Regions from separate parts of the Homo sapiens genome. Here region 1 is linked to region 2. The links are contacts of gene promoters, found by promoter capture Hi-C in human tissues and cell types (Jung and others, 2019). All regions are on one chromosome and are shown on one strand. Each heading gives the region's core, a stretch centred on a gene start or on the middle of the fragment in contact. The rest is flanking DNA. Distances are from core to core; before and after follow the strand shown. Region 1 overlaps LRRC75A (leucine rich repeat containing 75A). Region 2 holds the start of CENPV (centromere protein V).

Region 1 (5,431 bases), core at 134-2,633, 100 kb after region 2:
AGCCTGGGCAACAGAGTGAGACTCTGTCAAAAAACAAACAAACAAACAGGCCAGGCGTGGTGGCTCATGCCTGTAATCCCAGCACTTTGGGAGGCAGAGGGGGGCGGATCACCTGAGGTTGGGAGTTTGAGACCAGCCTGACCAACATGGAGAAACCCCATCTCTACTGAAAATACAAAATTAGCCAGGCATGGTGGTGCATGTCTGTAATCCCAGCTGCTCGGAAGGCTGAGGCAGGAGAATCGCGTGAACCCAGGAGGCAGAGGTTGAGGTGGGCCGAGATCACGCCACTGCACTCCAGCCCGGGCAACAAGAGCAAAATTCCGTTTTAAAATAAATAAATAAATATAATTAAAATAAACAAATTCTAACAAACAAAAAACCAAAAAAACAAAAAAACCTCTTTCCCTGGGGTTTGGGGTCTTCATTTCTTTCTTTTTTTAAAGAGATGGGGGTCTCACTATATTGGCCTTGCTGGTATTGAATTCCTGGACTCATGTAATCCTCCTGTATCAGCCTCCCAGGTAGCTGGGGCTAAGGGTCCTCATTTCTTTTCTTTTCTTTTCTTTTCTTTTTTTTTTTTAGTGACGGAGTCTTGCTCTGTCCCCGCCCTCAGGCTGGAGTACAGTGGCACCATCTCAGCTCATTGCAACCTCCGTCTCCCAGGTTCAAGTGATTCTCCTGGCTTAGCCTCCCGAGTAGCTGGGATTACAGGCGCGTGCCACCACGCCCAGCTAATTTTTGTATTTTTAGTAGAGACAGGGTTTCACTATGTTGGCCAGGTTGGTCTTGAACTCCTGACCTCAGACGATCCGCCTGCCTCGGCCTCCCAAAGTGCTGGTATTACAGGTGTGAGCCACCGTGCCTCACCTGAGCGTCTTCATTTCTGAAAGCTCCCATGTTGCGTAAAATTTTGATTAAACACATTTGTTCTGCTTTTTTGTTACCCTGTGTCTGGTTATAGGAGTGTCAGCCATGACCCTTATAATGAGTGAGGGAAAAGTACCACACAGTTCTGCCCTACAATTTTTTTTTTTAGACGGAGTCTTGCTCTGTCGCCCGGCTGGAGTGCAGTGGCGCAATCTCAGCTCAATGCAACCTCCATCTCCCAGATTCAAGCGGTTCTCTTGCTTCAGCCTCCCGAGTAGCTGGGACTACAGGCACCCGCCATCCATGCCCGGCTAATTTTTTTTGTATTTCTATTAGAGACGGGGTTTCACCATGTTGGTCAGGCTGGTCTCAAATCCTGACCTCAAGTGGTCCACCTGCCTCGACCTCCCTAAGTGCCCTACAAACTATAGTCCCATACCTTACTACAACCCTATGAGACAGGTATTATTAATAACCCCGCTTTACAAATGAGGGAACTGAGGCAAAAAGAACTTAAATAGATGGGCAAGGCCTCCCAGCTTGTAAGACGGAGTCAGGATCTAAAGTCAGCCAGCTCTGAGGCTGATGCTCCTAACCGCTATCTGCTGCCCTCCTTGTGAGAAATCCTGTCTTTGGCTTAGGTCAGTTCAAAGTGTTTCTATCATTTACAACCAGAAAAGCCTTCAGTGAGACTGTCTCATTTTTTCCCAACTCTTCCACTTTTCAAAGAACCCCTCCAGGGCTCCCTCCTGCAGAGAACAGGACTAGGCAGCACTGGCCCAGAAGTGGAGCAGTAAGAAGGTGGGGAACGGGGGGAGGGAGAGGAGGAGAAGGAGGAAGAGGAAGAGGGAGAGGAGGAGGAGGAAGGGGAGGGGGAGGAGGAGGAGTAGCAGTAGTAGGAGGAGGAGGAAGAGGAGGGAGAGGAGGAGGAAGAGGAGGGGTAGGAGGAGGAAGAGGAGGAAGGAGGAGGAAGAGGAGGAGGAAGAGGAGGAAGAAGAGGAGAAAGGAGGAGAAGAAGGAAGAGGATCAGGAAGAGGAGGAGGAGGAAGAGGAGGAGGAAGAGAAGGAAGAGGAGGAGGAGGAAGAGGAGAAGAAGGAAGAGGAGGAGGAAGAGAAGGAAGAGGAGGAGGAAGAGAAGGAAGAGGAGGAGGAAGAGAAGAAGGAAAAGGAGGAAGAGGAGGAGGAGGAAGAGGAGCAGAAGAAGGAAGAGGAGGAGGAAGAGGAAGAAGAGGAGAAGGAGAAAGAAGAGGAGGAGGAAGAGGAAGAGGAGGAGGAAGCTGGACTTGACACTGAGACACACATACCCTAACTCCTCCAGTGGCTGGAACCCTGAGAAGTAACCTGGGAGCCATAGCTAGCCACATTCCCTACCATGCGGCAGGGGGAAGAGCAGTCTGTGCAGAGGGAACACAGAGGGAGGCAGGGTAGAGCAGCGAGGAGGGAAGGAGGGACCTCTGCACCGTGCTTATCTATAGTTCTAGCACCTTGGTCTAACTTGGCTGCCCGTGGGCACCACAAGACACCTCGATATCTGTAGAACACATTTTCTTCCTTGCTGGAGCCAGCCCGCCTGGGCTTCTGTTATGTGCAGCAGAATCCTAACCCGCCCAGAAGGCTCAATGGCTGTGTGCTGAATCAATGCTTTGCAGTCCTCCCCCGATCCCTGAAGATGGCAGGAGTGGGATGTGGCACAGTCAAGTGACTATGAGTGCAGGTCAGGGCAGCAGCCTCTCCAGACCTTCCCAGTGAGGCTGCCCAGGTCCTGGGGCAGAACGTGTTTGAGGGGCTTCTCATTAATCTGTCAGGAAAGATGACGTGCTGACCTGCAGGCTGACCTGGGAGGGGTACCAGCACCCGACACTGCTCTGGCTCTCAGCCATCAGGCAGTGATACCATCTGCCATCTTCACTCCCCAGGCACCTCTGTAACTGCTCCAGGACCCCGACAAGCACAGCCCTCCACTGCCCTCCATTCAAGGCTATCCCTCCCTCATCCATAAATTCATTCATACATTCATCAAATGTTGACTGTCCCCCTCATTACACTGGACACCATTCCAGATGCAGAGACTGTGTGCCGGCTTTTCTGTTTCCTCTTGCCCCACAGTCCACTCTGCCCTTCTCTGCTCAGAAGGCTGGGCTCTAGAGACTGCATCACTGGGCTCTCTTCCCCCTGGCTTCCACTTGGGTTCAGCTAATGGGAGCAATGGCAGCAAGACCAGAGGGCAGGAGGAGAGACGGATGGGGGAGTTTATTCTGATTCCCCCACTTCGGCATGTGCAGCCGCCGGCCTCCAAGACAGCCTTGCTGCTCTCGGCTCCTGGCATCTGTGCCCCTGTGTAATGTCCTTCCACATTGTAGCAGGGCTGGTCTAAGTGAGCAACAGAATCATTAGAACCAATAGAATGGTGGAAATGATGGTTTGTGACTTCTGAGACTGGGTCTTAAAAGGTATTGTGGGGGTTGGGCTCACACCTGCAATCCTAGTGCTTTGGGAGGCCAAGGGAGGGGGATTGCTTGAGGCCAGGAGTTTGAGACCAGCCTTGGCAACATAGTGAGTGCCCCGTCTCTACAAGAAAAAAAAAAACAAAAAATTAGCTAGGCATGGTGGTGCCTGCCTGCAGTCCCAGCTACTTGGGAAGGTGAGGTGGGAGGATCACTTGAGCCTAGTAGTTCCAGGCTGCAGAAAGTTATGATCACACCTCTGCACTCCAGCCTGGGCATCAGAGTGGGACCCTGTCTCAAAACAAACAAACAAACAAATACAAACAACAACAACAACAAAAAAGCAAGGCCAGGCATAGTGGCTCACACCTGTAATCCCAGCACTTTGGAAGGCCAAGGTGGGTGGATCACCTGAGGTCAGGAGTTTGAGACCAGGCTGGCCAACATGGTGAAACCCCGTCTCTACTAAAAATACAAAACATTAGCCAGTTGTGGTGGCAGGTGCCTGTAATCCCAAGCTACTTGGGAGGCTGAGGCAGGAGAACCGCTTAAACCCGGGAGGCAGAGGTTGCAGCGAGTCGAGATTGCGCCATTGCACTCCAGCCTAGGTGATACAGCGAGACTCTGTCAAAAGAAAGAAAGAAAGAAAAGAAAGGAAAGAAAGAAAGGCATTATGGCTTCTATATTATCACCTGTTGTGGGATAAGCCAGCTGCCATGATGTGAGGACACTCAAGCAGTCCCATGGAGAGGCTACAGGGCGAGTGTGCCGCCTTGGAAGTAGACCTGCCAACTTCTTTTTTTTTTTGAGACGGAGTTTCGCTCTTGTTGCCCAGGCTGGAGTGCAATGGCGCGATCTCAGCTCACGGCAACCTCCGCCTGCCGGGTTCCAGTGATTCTCCTGCCTCAGCCTCCCGAGTAGCTGGGATTATAGGCATGCGCCACCACGCCCGGCTAATTTTGTATTTTTAGTAGAGATGGGGTTTCTCCATGTTGGTCAGGCTGGTCTCGAACTTCCAACCTCAGATGATCCACCTGCCTCGGCCTCCCAAAGTGCTCGGTGGCCTCCCAAAGGTGTGAGCCACCGAGACTGGCAGACCTGCCAACTTCTGTTAAGCCTTCTGACACCTGCAGCCCTGACCAATGTCTTGAGAGACCCAAAGCTAAACTACCTACTTAAGCGGCCCCTGCAAACCTGACCTACAGAGACTATAACAATAAATGTCTGTTGTTTTAAGCCACTAAGTTTTGGGGTAGTTTGCTATATGGCAATGGATAATGCAGCGTGGCTCTGGACCAGGTGTTCTCACCCTGCCTCTGGCAATACAGCTTGTCCTCCTGTGAAACAACTTCCTACTACTGCTGTCTTTGGATGTCTCAATGTCCCCTGTTGACTTCCTTTATCCTGTCCTCAACCCTTTACTAAACTCTCTTCAAACTTCACAATGGAATATGTTGCCTGCTTCCTGCCTGGTGCAGGTTGGAATTATGAACAAGACAGACACCCTTCCCTTCAGAGTTTATATTCTAGTGGGGAAAACAGACAATAAATTAGCCAACAAATAAATAAGCAAGGTAATTTCAGAGACCAGTAAGTAAAACAGAGAAACGAATGGAAAAATAAATGGGGCTCGAGACAGGCTGATCAGGAGCCTACACTAGGCAGGCTTGTCAACGAAGGCCTCTCAGAGGCCGTAGGCTCAGTCTGAACTCAGGAGAAGGCAACTCAGACAGAAGAGGCTGGAGCAGTCAAAGGGAGCAGCGACGTCCCTAAGATAGGAGAGGGTGTGGAGGTGTCAGGAACAGAGGAGGGAGGCCCACGTGCTAGAGCAGAGCTCGCAGGGTGGCAAGTGGGAGAGGGGAGCTCAAGAGACTCAGGCAAAGCCAGATGAGGAGTTTGGGTTTTGTTTAAACTACAGCACAGCCCCTCACTAAAGGATGTTCAGTGAGGTCCGTGTAGTATCCAATTTACCTTTGGAACGAGCTCTCCGGTCTTGACACCTCTGCCTATAATCTCTAGACCCATAACGTGGGCTGACATGAACTTCTCAGATGCAAATTGCTCTGACCAGGATGTCCTGGTCAGCCCTCTGGGGTGGATGGAGGGGCTGCTCCTAC
Region 2 (5,466 bases), core at 1,164-3,663:
CCGAGTAGCTGGGATTACAGGCGCCCACCACCACACCCAGCTAATTTTGTATTTTTAGTAGAGACGGGGTTTCTCCATGTTGGTCAGGCAGTCTCAAACTCCCCACCTCAGGTGATCCACCCGCCTCGGCCTCCCAAAGTGCTGGGATTACAGGCATGAGCCACCTCACCCAGCCTACATACAATTTTAACCCTTTAAAGCTTATATATAAGCCAAACTCAGAAATGAACATTAAGATCTGATAAATGTCTTAAAATCGCTTTCCAAAAGGATTGAACACCCTTACCCGATAAATAAATGAGAAAACATTTCACTGTACAGTCTCAGGCAATAATTATAGGAAAAATAGCTCACTGCAGTTTTAATTTGCATGATTAAGACTGATCATTTTTTCATGTTTCTTTACGTTTATGTATTTTAATTTTTTCTGCACACATAATGCTTATTGTAAAAACTCCAAACTTCACACTATTTGAGAGTGCTCAAAGTGAAAGCCTCCTGTAATCTTTACACCCAGAGGGATCTACAGTTAATTATTTGTTATATATTCCCCCAAACTTTTTTCTACACAATATTTTAACGAAAATGGTACAGTTATACACACTTTTTGAATATAATTTAGTAGACTTTATAAGTACAAAGTCATGGCAATCTAGTGGGAGAAAAACAGCTTTTTTATGTCAATATTTTAAAACTTTTTCTTGACCATTTATCAGTTTGTCTTAAAATAAAAATTTATCTCAAATTTGAGTTTTACATTCTTCTTTTTTTCTGTATGCCTTGAAGACACCATGAGTTTTACATTCCTAAGGATCTTCGTATTCCTTCTGCCCAGAGGCAGCCGTCACCCTATAGGTGCTCAAATGTTTGATGGATGAACGTTTTTTAAAAATTCAGTGTGCAGTCCAAGATGAAAAACCAAAAAGTGAAGCACACAGAAAACCAAATATGTATCTTCTGTCGGGGACGACTCATCCTAAGAGAATTTCTTCCGCAAGAAGCTCAAAGGAACATGTTCAAGAAAAGAAGTAATTCTCAGGTTATGCAATTGCTAGGTTATTCTTGTCGGTTTTTTCCCCCTAGTGTTTTGATTGTTCTTTTTAATTCGTAAAATTGACACTGAAATATAATATCAGGGCGTTAAAATATCTCTCTGTAGCACAACTGTTCCCCGAGGCAGGAATCCAGATCGCATTTGGAGAAAAGAAGGCAGCCCTTTAACAGCCCAGTTAAAAGCTCTTTCCCAAATCGCGGACACTCGAGATGCTCCTCGGGCCATCTAAAAGACTGCGGAGCAGCCAGGAGGGCGAGCGGCAGGGAGCATTAGCTGGCTGAGCACATAAAAGCCTCCCTACGTAGGTATCCCCGCCGCCGCGCGAGGCCGGAGCATCTCTTCGCGCGCGCTTCTCTCCCGGATCAATAACCTCCGCCCCCTGCTCCCTCCCTGGCAGTGCCTGGAACAATGACGGGATTTTGCTTCCCAGTGAGTTCAAAACTATTCATGCTTCCTTCAACGCTTCTACCTTTCCCTTCCACCCACCCTCAAAAACACGTGTGCAAACACAAAAAAAAAGGGGATTCGGGTAAGAGAAAGCCGTGGGATTTATGTTCTTTTCACTAAGAAAGGCCCCCACACCCTTTGCGCGCCAGCAAGAGACAACGTCCCCGAGCACGATGCTTATGGCCGGGAAAGACTCTTTGTGTCCCAAGACGGCTGCGCGCGCCCTCAAGCTCCGGACGAAGCCCCCTTTCCATTCCCAGGCCACACAGCCCTAGAAGCACCGCCCCGCCCCGCCGCCCTTAGAATTAAGGAATAACCCCAGTGCTAACGGGGGAGCCGCGTCGGCTCCGTAACGTGGAAGGCTCAGAGCTGAAAGGCGCCCAAGGCCTGCACGCGGGCTGCGAGCCCGACTCCTGCCGAGGGGGTCCGCGTGGCAACGGCTCCCGCGCCCCCCGGCCCGCCGCACTCACAAGGTGTCTAGCAGGAGCTTGGCGGCACCCTCGGAGGTAAGCTTCTGCCGCTTCTGGAACGTCTCCCAGCGCTCCCGCTGCTCGCCCAGGTCCAGGTTGGACGCCGAGGACGTCGGGGTCGCGGGAGTCGGCGGCGGCGGCGGCGGTGGCGGGAGCAACGCCAGCTCAGGCGGCGGCGGCTCCCCCGGGCCCTCCTCCTGGGCCCGCGGCGACGAGCGCCTCAGCCGCGGCTTCTCCGACGGCGGCTTCTCCACCGCCTGGCTCTTGCTCCCGGCCTGGCTAGCGGAGCGCCGTGTGCGGGTGGCGCTGGGTGCCAAGGCAGCGGCCGCGGAGGCCGCGGGGGCCGCGGAGGCCCCGGACCGCTTCTGCCCGCGCAGCTTGGCGGCCGCAGAGCTCCTCGATCGCCGCATGGCTCCCGCAGCCTGGCGCGCAGGCCTCGCAGCGCGGCGCGCCCCCGCCGGCCTGCGCGCGCCCCCGCCGCCCGCCAGTCTTCAGGCCCAGGGGGCGCTGCGCCCGGCTGCCCCGCTCCGCCAGCCGCGCCCCGCAGCGCGGCGCCTGCCCGCAGGAGGGAGACCCGGCCCGCCCGGCCGCTGGGACGCACCTGCCTGTTCAGTCCCGCAGGCAGAGGGGCTGCGCCTGGGCCTACGCTCGCGATACCCAGAATCCACTCGCACCTGCGAAGGCGCCCCTGCCCTGTGTGAATCCAGCGGGCTCTTCGTACCTTCCCGACCTGGAGGGGCCTGGGTTGGGCCTGAATTCGCAGGCTCATCCGAGCGGGCAGCCTGGGGTAACTTCGTCTCCAAAAACGAGCTAATTTGTGTAAACGGCCTGCCACCTGCTACCTCCTGTGTAACAGCGGCCGAAACCATAGTTCTTCACCTTCGTCTTTTCTGTCACATTATAGAACAGTGTCATGAGGATACCAATAGTCAACAGATTTGGGGTTTCATTTTAATTAAATGAATGACCCGCGCGTCGAATTTCATTAGTATGATTTTGATGAAGGCAGCACCAAAGTTTAAAGACAAAAGGCACGAGAATCGTTGATGGAACCCAGATAGTCTTCTTCTCCTTCTCCTTCTTCTTCTTTTTTCAGACCGAGTTTCGCTCTTGTTGCCCAGGCTGGAGTGCAGTGACGCGATCTCGCCTCACCGCAACCTCCGCCTCCCAGGTTCAAGCGATTCTCCTGCCTCAGCCTCCTGAGTAGCTGGGATTACAGGCATTCGCCACCACACCCGGCTAATTTTGTATTTTTAGTAGAGACGGGGTTTCACCATGTTGGTCAGGCTGGTGCCGAATACTCCCGACCTCAGGTGATCCATCCGCCTCGGCCTCCCAAAGCGCTGGGATTACAGGCCTGAGCCACCGGGCCCAGCCTATCTTTCTTTTTTTTTTTTTTTTTTTTTTCTTTTTTGGAGTCTCACTCTGTCGCCAGGCTGGAGTGCAGTGGCGCGATCTCGGTTCACGCAACCTCCGCCTCACCGTTCCAGCGATTCTCCTGCGTCAGCCTATCTTTCTTCTTTATTCTGATTTTCTTCATGGTATTGTTAGTTTAATAGTTTATTGAATTAAAGGCATAGTTTAACTATTTTGTCTTTTTTTTTTTTTTTCCATACAGGATCTGACAGACTGGAGTGCAGTAGCGGGATCTCGGCTCAGTGTAGCCAAGAACTCCTGGCCTCAAGCGATCCTGCCGCCTGGGCCTCTGGAGTAGCTGAGTAGCTGGAACAACAGGCGGCGCCCCCCCCCCCCCCCCCCCGCCCCAGCGAATTGTTGCTATTGTTGTTTTGTAGATACCGGGTTTCCCTATGTTGCCCAGGCTGGTCTCTAACTCCTGGCCTCAAGCGATCCTCCCGCCTAGTTCTCCCCAAGTGTTGGGATTACAGGCGTGAGCCACCGAGCCCCACCTTGCCATTTTGTCGTTGTTGTTGTTGGAATTATGGTTTACACACAGCAACGTGCAAATATCTTAGATGTACAGCTTATGTGACCACCACCACTTCAGATACAGAACATTTTCAGCACACCAGAGTTTCCCTCAGGCAAAAGAAAACAGAGGCGATCACTGTTCTTTTACCACCATAGGTTGGTTTTGCTTATTCTTGAACATCATTTTAAAACGGCACGTAGGCCGGGCGCAGTGGCTCATGCCTAATCCCAACACTATTGGGAGGCCGAGGTGCTCAGATCGCTTGAGCCCAGGAGTTTGAGACCAGGAGGTGGAAGCTGCGGTGAGCTGTGATTACACCACCATATTCTACTCTGGGTGACAGAGTGAGACCTTGTCTCAAAAAAAAAAAAAAAAAAAAAAAGCTGGGTGTGGGGAGTGGTTATCCTTGAGGAGAACTAACTGGGAAAGAGAACAAAGGACTCTTCTAAGATGCTGGATATGGCCAGGCACAGTGGCTCATGCCTGTAATCCCAGCACTTTGGGAGGCGGAGGTGGGCAGGAGTTTGAAACCAGCCTGGCCAACATGGGGAAACCCTGTCTCTACTAGAAATACAAAAACTAGCTGGGCATGCTGGCAGGCACCTGTAATCCCAGCTACTCGGGAGGCTGAGACAGGAGAATCGCTTGAATTCAGGAGGTGGCGGTTGTAGTGAGCCGGAGGTTGCACCATTGCACTCCAACCTGGGCAACAGAGTAAGACTCCGTCTCAAAGAAAAAAAAAGATACTGGATATGTTCTCTACATTATCTTGATCTGGGTGGTAGTTATGGAGGTGTGTAAAACACATAAAAACACTTCAGTGTGTGTAAGACTTAGCTCAATTTAAAAATGAAGAACATGGCTGGGCATGGTGGCTCACGCCTGTAATCCCAGCACTTTGGGAGGCCAAGGTGCCGGATCACCTGAGGTCAAGAGTTTGAGACCAGCCTGACCAACGTGGAGAAACCTCATCTCTAATAAAAATACAAAATTAGCCAGGCGTGGTAGCACATGCCTGTAATCCCAGCTATTCAGGAGGCTGAGGCAGGAGAATCACTTGAACCCGGGAGGTGGAGGTTGCAGTGAGCTGAGATCGGCCATTGCACTCCAGCCTGGGCAACAAGAACAAAACTCTGTATCAAAAAAAAAAAAAAAAAAAAAGAAGAAGAAGAACAACAACATAAGTTAGGCTATTATTTTAAAGACATTATATCATTAAGTAGGTTTGAGGTGAAGAAAATAATTGAATAGTTATTGCAAACCCAAAACTCAAGAACGCAATTAAAAAGGCATGTGCTGGCTGGGCACAGTGGCTCATGCCTGTAATCCCAGCACTTTGGGAGGCCAAGGAGGGCAGATCACTGAGGTCAGGAGTTCGAGACCACCTTGGCCAACATGGTGAAACCCCGTCTCTACTAAAATTACAAAAAATAGCTGGGCATGGTTGTGGGCGCCTGTAATCCCAGCTACTCGGGAGGCTGAGGGAGGAGAATCGCTTGAACCTGGGAAGTGGAGGTTGCAGTGAGATTGCACTCCAGCCTGAAACAAAACTCCATCTCAAAAAA

Evidence for each region. Contacts are between HindIII fragments. The study calls those that stand out against the background at their distance.
Region 1: a fragment that was not itself captured here is called in contact with the fragment with the promoter of CENPV in region 2 in 4 of the 25 tissues and cell types used here (aorta, hippocampus, neural progenitor cells and 1 more).

What each region holds. Positions count from the first base shown.
Region 1 is chr17:16,454,362-16,459,792 of GRCh38, forward strand. The region is part of intron 2 of LRRC75A (leucine rich repeat containing 75A); the gene reads right to left. All of the region lies in intron 3 of SNHG29 (small nucleolar RNA host gene 29), which reads left to right. Among named protein-coding and RNA genes, the nearest start is that of SNORD65, 16 kb to the left of the region's middle. RefSeq lists enhancers at 2,020-2,521, 2,522-3,021. The HindIII fragment of the contact is 8,128 bases long and covers 1-5,431 here.
Region 2 is chr17:16,351,056-16,356,521 of GRCh38, forward strand. It overlaps CENPV (centromere protein V), which reads right to left and starts at 2,414. Exons shown (of 5, transcript NM_181716.3): 1 at 1,972-2,414. The coding sequence starts at 2,381. RefSeq lists silencers at 1,804-2,413, 2,474-2,623. The HindIII fragment of the contact is 38,840 bases long and covers 1,107-5,466 here.